Linked DNA regions of Homo sapiens: region 1 is linked to region 2. The links are contacts of gene promoters, found by promoter capture Hi-C in blood cells and fetal thymus (Javierre and others, 2016). All regions are on one chromosome and are shown on one strand. Each heading gives the region's core, a stretch centred on a gene start or on the middle of the fragment in contact. The rest is flanking DNA. Distances are from core to core; before and after follow the strand shown.

Evidence for each region. Contacts are between HindIII fragments. The CHiCAGO score rates a contact against its expected background, and 5 or more counts as called.
Region 1: a fragment that was not itself captured here is called in contact with the fragment with the promoter of CFLAR-AS1 in region 2 in 6 of 17 cell types (neutrophils, megakaryocytes, activated CD4 T cells and 3 more); the score reaches 7.3 in neutrophils.

The regions. Positions count from the first base shown.
Region 1 is chr2:201,103,536-201,107,991 of GRCh38, forward strand. LOC105373836 (a long non-coding RNA gene) reads right to left here. Exons shown (of 3, transcript XR_923785.3): 3 at 1,969-2,268. Among named protein-coding and RNA genes, the nearest start is that of CFLAR, 10 kb to the right of the region's middle. The HindIII fragment of the contact is 7,388 bases long and covers 1-4,456 here.
Region 2 is chr2:201,154,737-201,159,446 of GRCh38, forward strand. CFLAR-AS1 (CFLAR antisense RNA 1) reads right to left here and starts at 3,056. Exons shown (of 7, transcript NR_040030.1): 1 at 3,019-3,056. The region is part of intron 8 of CFLAR (CASP8 and FADD like apoptosis regulator); the gene reads left to right. RefSeq lists enhancers at 3,355-3,434, 3,455-3,784. The HindIII fragment of the contact is 4,248 bases long and covers 1,342-4,710 here.

The DNA of each region.
Region 1 (4,456 bases), core at 1,911-4,410, 51 kb before region 2:
TTATTATCTTTTGAGATGGAATCTCGCTCTGTCGCACTCAGGCTGGAGTGCAATGTCACAATCTTGGCTCACTGCAACCTCCACCTCTCAGGTTCAAGTGATTCTCCTGCCAGCCTCCCGAGTAGCTGGGTTTACAGGCGCCCACCACCACGCTAGGCTAATTTTTGTATTTTTAGTAGAGATGGGGTTTTGCCATGTTGGCCAGGCTGGTCTCAAACTCCTGACCTCAAGTGATCTGCCCACCTCAGCTTCTCAAAGTGCTGGGGTTACAGGCATGAGCCACCATGCAAGGCCTCTGTATTTCATTTTAGATAATTTATATTGTGTGTCTTCATGTTCACTAATCTTTTCTTCAGTATCTAATCTGCTTTTAACCTCATGCAATGTATTCTTCACCTCAGACATTGTAGTTTGCATCTAGAAGTTTTTTTGTGTGTGTTTTTTGGTGGTTGTTTGTTTTGTAGAGATGAATGTCTTGCTATGTTGCCCAGGCTGGTCTTGAACTCCTGGCCTCAAGTGATTCCTGTCTTAGCCTCCCAAAGTGCTGGGGTTATGGGCATGAGCCACCACATCTGGCCCATCTAGAGCTTTTTTTCTTTTTTAGAGACAGTGTCTCGCTCTGTCACCCAGGCTGGAGTGGTGCAACGGCACAATCATAGCTTACTGTAGCCTTGAATTCTTGGCCTCAAGGAGTCCTTCTGTTTCAACCTCTTGAATAGCTGAGAGTGTGTGCCACCGTGCCCAGTTAATTTTTTTATTTTGTAAAGATGAGATATCTGTTTATTGCCTGGGTTGATCTCAAACTCCTGGCCTCAAGCGATGCTCCCACCTTGGCCTCTCAAAGTGCTGGGATTACAGGTGTGAGCCACTGCATCTGGCCCCATCTATAGTTTTAATACGAGTCTTTATATCTTCCATGTCTCAACTTAACATGCTCAGTCTTTCCTCTATCTTATTGAAATATGGCTATAGAATCTGTTTTAGTATCCCTATCTACTAATTATTTTGCTTGTTTGTTTTACCTCACCTCAAAAGCCAAGGCAAATATACTAATTCTATTACCTATGGCATTTCTGGGTGTAATTCTATTGATTGATTGATTGTTATTGTCCTCATATGAGTGATCTTTTCCTGGTTCTTTGCTCTTTTGTATTTTTTTTTAAGATATGGAGTCTTGCTACTTGCCCAGGCTAGAATGCAGGTAGACATTTTGTCTACATGGTTTTTCAGTTGTTTCAGGCAGGAGGATACACCAGTCCCTGTTACTCCAGCTTGCCAGAGCAGAACATGTAAATTCAACAGAACCACAGATGGTTGTGTATACTGCATTTAGGCTTTTCCACATTCTTAGATTTACATGGCCTTACCATTTGCAAAGAATAAAGCAGGCAGGGTGCAGTGGCTCACACCTGTAATCCCAGCACTTTGGGAGGCTAAGGCAGGAGGACTGCTTGAGCCCAGGAGTTCAAGACCAGCCTGGGCAACATAGTGAGACCCTGTCTCTACAAATAATAAAAAATTAGCTGGGAATGGTGGCATGTGCATGTAGCCCCAGCTACTGAGGATTCCTTGAGCCTGGGAGGTCTAGGTGGCAGTGAGCCATGATCATGCTACTACACTCTAGCCTGAGCAACAGTGGGAGCCCCTGTCTCAAAAAACAAACAAACAAACAAAATAGATTAATCAAGGGGATAAAAATAAAAAGTAAAAAAAATTCATATGCAGTCACACAGGAGGTGCAAAGCACCTCCCTGATAAATGTCTTCCAAGTGGAATGTATCTTTGTTTTTATCAAACATCAGGGAATGTATTTTTCTCTGGATATGGTGTTTTTGACTAATATTTGCACAGAAATTGTTCATATTTCTGCCCCCCCAAAAAAACCTCAAGATAAGATTTTTAAGGAAAATTATGTGCATGAAAAGTCTTACATTGTATCCCAAATACAATTGGGGGAATACAGAATCATGTGTAGATATTTTTCCAACTTTTTATTTTCAAACCTGAAAACCAGGCCGGGTGTGGTGGCTCACGCCTATAATCCCAGAACTTTGGGAAGCCTAGGTGAGTAGATCACATGAGGCCAGGAGTTCGAGACCAGCCTGGCCAACATGGCAAAATCTTGTCTTTACTAAAAATACAAAAATTAGCTGGGCATGGTAGCACACACCTGTAGTCCCAGCTACTCGGAAGGCTGAGGCATGAGAATTGCTTGAACCCGGGAGATGGAGGTTGCAGTCAGCTGAGATCGTGCCAATGCATTGCAACCTGGGTGACAGAGAGAGACTTTGTCTCAAACAAAACAAAACCTGAAAACCAGAAAATTTAAAGAATACACATATACCCTTTACCTACAGACACCAATTGTTAACATTTAGCCACATTTACTTTATCTCTCTCTCTAGACACACACATACACACACACTTTGCTGAATCATTGACAGTAATGTGCAGACATCATGATACTTTACCCCTAGATTCTTCAGTGTGTGTTTTCTATGAACAAAGACATTCTCCTACATGATCACAATATCACTATCATACCTGCAATAGACTGAATGTTTCCCCCTGAAACTCATATGTTGAAACCTAATCCCCAGTGTGATGGCATTTGGAGGTGAGGCCTTTGGGAGATGAAAAGGTCATGAGGGTGGAACCCTCATGAATGGGATTAGTGCCCTTATAAAAGAGATCATAGAGAGCTCCCTTGCCCCTTCTACCATATGAGGGCACAGTGAGAAGATGACCACATCTATAAGCCAGAAGGCAGGCCCTCACCAGACTCTGAATCTGCCAGTGATCTTGGATTTCCCAGCTCCAGAAGTGTTAGAAATAAATTTCTGTTGTTTATAAGCTACCTAGTCTATGGTATTTTATCATATCAGCCCAAATGAATTAAGACAATACCCATGAAATTTAACATACACAATAGTGTCTAATGTACAGGCTATACCAAAATTTCCATTTCCCTGTAACTGACATTTATCCTCTTATCTCCAAAATAACTCTTCTCTGCCAGGCGTGGTGGCTCATGCCTGTAATCCCAGCACTTTGGGAGGCCGAGGCGGGTGGATCACCTGAGGTCAGGAGTTCGAGACCAGCCAGGCCAACATGGTGAAACTCCATCTCTACTAAAAATACAAAAAATTAGCCAGCGTGGTGGCAGGTGCCTGTAATCCCAGCTACTTGGGCGTCTGAGGCAGAAGAAACACTTGAACCCGGGAGGTGGAGGTTGCAGTGACCTGAGTCTGTGCCACTGCACTCCAGCCTGGGCAACAAGAGTGAAACTCCATCTCAAAAACAAAAACAAAACCCTCTTCTTCCTTTTATGCCCCCAACAGTTATGGGCCCTCCCCAAAGCTAAACCAATGCTCTCACCAAAGCAAAGCATGCCCAGTTCTTCATAGCCTTGATCTACCATCACTACACATATTATTCCATTTATTCCTTATACAAGAAGGTATTATCTCTATTATCTCATTTATTCCTTAAACAAGAAGGTATTCACTATCTCTATTATAAGAAAAATTAGGTTCAGAGAGATTCATTAACTTGGCTACAGTCACACAGATATTTATTAAGTCTCAGAGTCAAAATTTGAACTCAGATCTCTGACTTCACAGCCCATGTTCTTTCTGCTACGCCACACTGTCTACTGTATCAAATCTATATTACTTTTTTTTTTTTTTTCTGAGACAGGGACTCACTCTGTCTTTCAGGCTGGAGTGTAGTGGTGCAATCACAGCTCACTGTAGCCTCGACCTTCCAAGCTCAGGCCATCTTCCCAGCTCAGCCTCTTGAGTAGCTGGGACGACAGGCTCATGCCACTATGCCCAGCAAATCTATATTACTCTGACTAATGGAGATCGCAAGGCTTTTGTTTTATCTAAATGAGACCTCCATTTATTACTTACACAGTGATTAATAAGCATACAAGTTTTAGTGTTTTCTCTGTTAATTCTTAGTAGTCTACATTCTAGGATCTCTTTGAGGGCACAGCTAGTTTTGTTCTTAGAGACACCCTCAGCACCTAGAATGATGCCAGACACTTAGTAGGTATTCAGTGAATGTCTACTGGATAAATGCATGAATTAGACTAAGTACACATAGACTCAAAATAAATATACAAAGTATGTTTTCAAGCTGATTTTCTAACCCAGCAAGGGCTGTAAACATTCATTGTAAGAAGTTGATCAAACAGGAATTTACTCTGCTGCACTTTTTTTTTTTTTCTGAGACAGGGTCTCATTGTGTTGCCCAGGCAGGAGTGCAGTGGTGCAATCATGGCTCACCACAGCCCCAACCTCCCAGGCGGGCTCAGGTGATCCTCCCACCTCAGCCTCCCAAGTAGCTGGAACCACACGCTCAAGCCACCACATCTGGCTAATTTTTGTAATTTTTGTAGAGACAAAGTCTCACCATTTTGCCCAGGCTATTCTGCTGCATTTTTAACATT
Region 2 (4,710 bases), core at 1,806-4,305:
AGACTTTTATCCAAAAAGCATGCAAGTCCCCCAAGTATTTAAAGCTTTATTTCTTTGTTTGTCCAGTAAATGTTCGTTGAGGGCCTACTATGTGCAAAGCACCATGCTTGGCCCTGTGTGAAGCAAATATTAAGGCAATGAGGTGGAGTCTGATCTCAGAGCTGTGTTGTGCATGAAATAAGGTTATTCTTTGGTAGTTCTTTCTTGAGAAGAATTCTTATGGAGTTCAGTAACCTCTTCTTGAGGCAGAAGTAAATGCTCAGGGATTTGGGAACTAATTATCTCAGTTTGGTAGAATTGAAAAATAAGTCTTTGGTGTTGTGTCATCTGTGTCAGTGACAGCAAAGCTGGACCTGTGCTAGGCCCTGGTGGGTCATCTTTAAGCACTGGACTTTTATCTTGTTAGGAATATAGAAGCAAGCGTCTCACATCTCTGACAGATGGGCTTTACGGCTTGGCCTAAAGCTCTGGTTGTTTTTAAGGCCCTTGAATAAAAATAAAAGACGATGTTTGCAGATTTTAAGAGGAAGTTTTTTTTTTTTTTGAGACAGAGTCTCGCTCTGTCACCCAGGCTACTGGAGTGCAATGGCGTTATCTTGGCTCACTGCAACCTCTGTCTCCCGGGTTCAAGCGATTCTCCGCCTCAGCCTCCTGAGTAGCTGGGATTACAGGCACCCGCCATCATGCCCGGCTAATTTTTGTATTTTTGTAGAGATGGGGTTTCACCATGTTGGCCAGGCTAGTCTTGAACTCCTGACCTCAGGTGATCCGCCCGCCTCGGCCTCCCAAAGTGCTGGGATCACGGGGATGAGCCATCGCACCTGGCCAAGAGGAAGTATTTTTTTTTTCTATCCTGCTCTTTCTGAAAAGCTTGAACATTTTTCTGTACTTTCCTTTTCTTTTTTGAGACAGGGTCTTGCTCTATCACCCAGAATGGAGCACAGGGGTACAATCATGGCTCACTGCAGCCTTCACCTCCCGGGCTCAAGCAATCCTCTCACCTCACCCTCCCAAGTAGCTGGAACTACACACAGGCGCCACCACATCCATCTAATTTTTAAAATATTCTGTAGAGACAGGGTCTCACTATGTTGCCCAGGCTGGTCTCAAACTTCTGGGCTGAAGCAATCCTCCCACTTCAGCCTCCTGAGTGGCTGGGACTACAGGCACATGCTATCATGTCTGGCTAACTTTGTTTTTTATAGAGACAGGGTCTTTTGCTGTATTTCCCAGGGCGGTCTTGAACTCCTGGCTTCAAGTGATCTTCCTGCCTTGGCCTCCCAAAGCACTGGGATTATGGCCATGAGCCACCACGTAATCTTTGTTTTATGCGTATTTATAAGCTTTGCTTCCCCAACAAGATTATAAGCTCTTTGATTGAAGTACATCATATATTTGATATGTATTCTCTTGTCCAAGTGTTTCTGTAGGCAATAAGGGGAACTTTGTAAAACAAGAGTTTTCCGGTCAAGTAAATTTGAGAAGCGCTGCCTAATCTCTTCCCCCTCAGAGATTTGCAATGCATATTGACCTATTAAAGGCTCTGAGAATTCTTCCTGCGAAGAAACCTATTTTAGCCTTGTCCACCTTGCATTTCCCAAACACGTTTGACCTCAGAACTCCCTTTTTCACTAAGAATGTTTTGCCCATCTTATGTTTTACCCATGTGCTCTATAGCAGTTAACACTGGGCTTATTAAAGGTACTCAATATGTGATTGTAAATTAACTGGTGAAGCATTCCCTCATTCTTGTTTATTTTATACATTTATTTAATGAAGCCCTTTTCATAGAAATTGTCAAGATAAATGTATCCTCATTTAGATCAAAACAAATTCTAAATTAATGAAGTCATGACATTTTACTGTATTTTGGTTTTTTTGGTTTATCTGTGAAGTCCTCAAACCTGTGAGTAGTGCTGACCCTAGCCTTGAATGAACAGCCCTGTACTAACTGCAAGGCCAGAAGAACCCCTGCCCTTCCCCTCCCCACCCCCCCACATCATTTCCAGAAGTTCTAAAGAACAGTTGAAATTTACGGAGATCAGACTGGGTTGAGTGTGGGATTTCCAGGGTGGGTTCTAGAAGGAGAAGTGGGTCTTCTGTAGTTTGTTGAAATTTTATTTTCCAAACCCAGCCCCCAAGTTTTTCTTCCTCTATTTATGTGCAAGGACAAAACAGTTACTGTCCTACCTACATAGGATATGGACTCTGTCTGCTCTGAGCCCATTTTAGTTTAGAATATAGAGACCTCCCTCCAGGTCCTAAGAGAGAGATTCCATGAGAGATGTGCAACACCATAAGGTTGGTGATTTGTACTTTGAAATGGCTGCCTTTATTTCCTTTAAAGTCAATATCTTATATTTGAATAAACACAGTTTGCAAAGCATCTTTACAGAAATCTCATTGGATCCTCACGGTCACCTTTTTTCTGAGACAGAGTCTCACTCTTTCACCCAGGCTGGAGTGCAGTGGAGCGATCTTGGCTCCTCCACTTCCTGGGCTCGAGTGATCCTCCTTCCTTAGCCTCCCAAGTAGCTGGGACCACAGATGCGTGCCACCATGCCCAGCCAATTTTTGTATTTTTGGTAGAGATGGGGTTTCGCCATGTTGCCCAGGCTGGTCTCAAACTCTGCAGCTCAAGCAATCCACCCGCCTTGGCCTCCCAAAGTGCTGGGATTACAGGTATGAGCCACTGTACCCTGCCCTCACAGTCACCTTTTGAAGAACCTCCTGCTCAAGAGATCCTCCTGCCTCAGCCTCCTGAGTAGCTGTGATGACTACAGGCTTGTACTACCATGCCTGGCTAGTTTTTTTATTTTTTGTAGAGACGGGGTTCCCTGTGATGCCCAGGGTGGTCTCAAACTCCTGAGCTCAAGCCATCCTCCCACCTCAGCCTCCCAAAGTGCTGGGATTGTAGGTGTGAGCCACTGCACCTGGCCAAGCATTAGTTTTAATCTTGTTTTATAGATGAATAAACTGGGGCTGACTCAAACTGACTCAAAGTCACACTGTCATTACCTTTTTGATCCTGTACGTTAGACTGGGCTGTATGCATGTTCTTGCTGGCGCAATAAAGTTGCAAGTGCCAGCTAACAGCCCTTCCCACTCCACCTCACCACCTCATAGAGGAAAATTGTGACGTTAATGGGAAATGTCAGCGGTAATGTCTTCAGGCTGGGCCTGTGGAGTGACTCCCTTGCCACAGGATATTTAAGCAATGCTGTGTCTTGTCTGAGGCTCAGACCTGCTATTCTTATTGGCACTTGGGACCTGCATGGTTTTTGGCTTCACCTCCAGCTTTAGCCATTTTTCTTCTGTTCTTTTAGGTAAGGATTTTCTGCCCCAGACCTCAGATTCCCATTTCCTTCCTAGCTTCTCTGCTGTTATAGCTCAGTCTCTTCCAAGACCATGCAAGATTCAGACCCTAGTAGGAGGAGATGGAGGAACTAGGACTTAAACCCACATCTTGTGATTCCAAGGCTGGTTCCTCTTTTGCCCTGCACCACACAGCTGTCTGCTCACAGTCATGTGACAGGGGCTTCCCCAGCCAGAACCTCCAGGGAGCACAAATAAAGGAAAGAGCTGGAAGGCACAGTACAGCATTTGTTCTGTCCAAGCCTTACATATCAGCATGGGCAGGGAGAATGTGGTGAAGTTTTCTTTCAAGGACTTTGTTTGATAAGGAAGGACATTTATCAGTGAAGAGAGGTTTTGAGGGAAGTGAACCAATCTTGAGATAAGTACACAAAAGAGCTTTGAGTCTGGTGTTTCCCTGTTTGCTTCTGCCCCCTGGAGGAGCAAATACTCCATGATTAGAGACGTGTGAGTCCTTTGGAATAGAATAGCAGTGATGGAACTGGAGTCCTAGTCCAGGTTCTCTCCTTGTTCAGCCTGGATTCAGCACTGGGTATCGAAACAAGCCTGCACCCTCAGAGGAGATGGCTAGGGGACAGTGCGTCCAGGCCTCTTCTACCACACAGAGTTTTCTTTTTTTTATAAAGGGTATACACATTTAAAATTTAATGATACTCCCAAATTGCTCTTCAAAAAGGCTGTGCAAAATTACAGTCCTGATAACAGCTACCCAGAGATCCTGTAACGGCATTTGCCCTCATCATTATTATTATTATTATTATTATTATTATTATTATTTGAATTTGAGACGGAGTTCTGCTCTGTTGCCCAGGCTGGAGTGCAGTGGCGCAATCTTGGCTCACTGCAACCTCTGCCTCCCGGGTTCAAGCAATTCTCCTGTCTCAGCCTCCCTAGTAGCTGGGATTACAGGTGAGCACCACCACGCCTGGCTAATTTTTGTATTTTTAGTAGAGACGGGGTTTCACCATATTGGCCAGACTGGTCTCGAACTCCTGACCTCAGGTGATCTGCCCGTCTCGGCCTCCCAAAGTGCTAGGATTACAGATGTGAGCCACTGGGGCTGGTTGCCCTCACTATTTAATGGGTTATTTGCAACCTGTGAATCATGTCTCCTATTTCCTTGTTAATGATGCTTATTGATTATAGACTTAGGAATATCAGCACCTCCTTTGTAGCTCTTCATTCTTACATGATATAATAATTAATTTTTTTTTTTGAGACAGAGTCTCACTCTGTTGCCCAGGCTGGAGTGCAGTGTCACAATGTTGGCTCACTGCAACCTCCACCTCCTGGGTTCAAGCGATTCTCCTGCCTCAGCCTCCTGAGTAGCTGGGA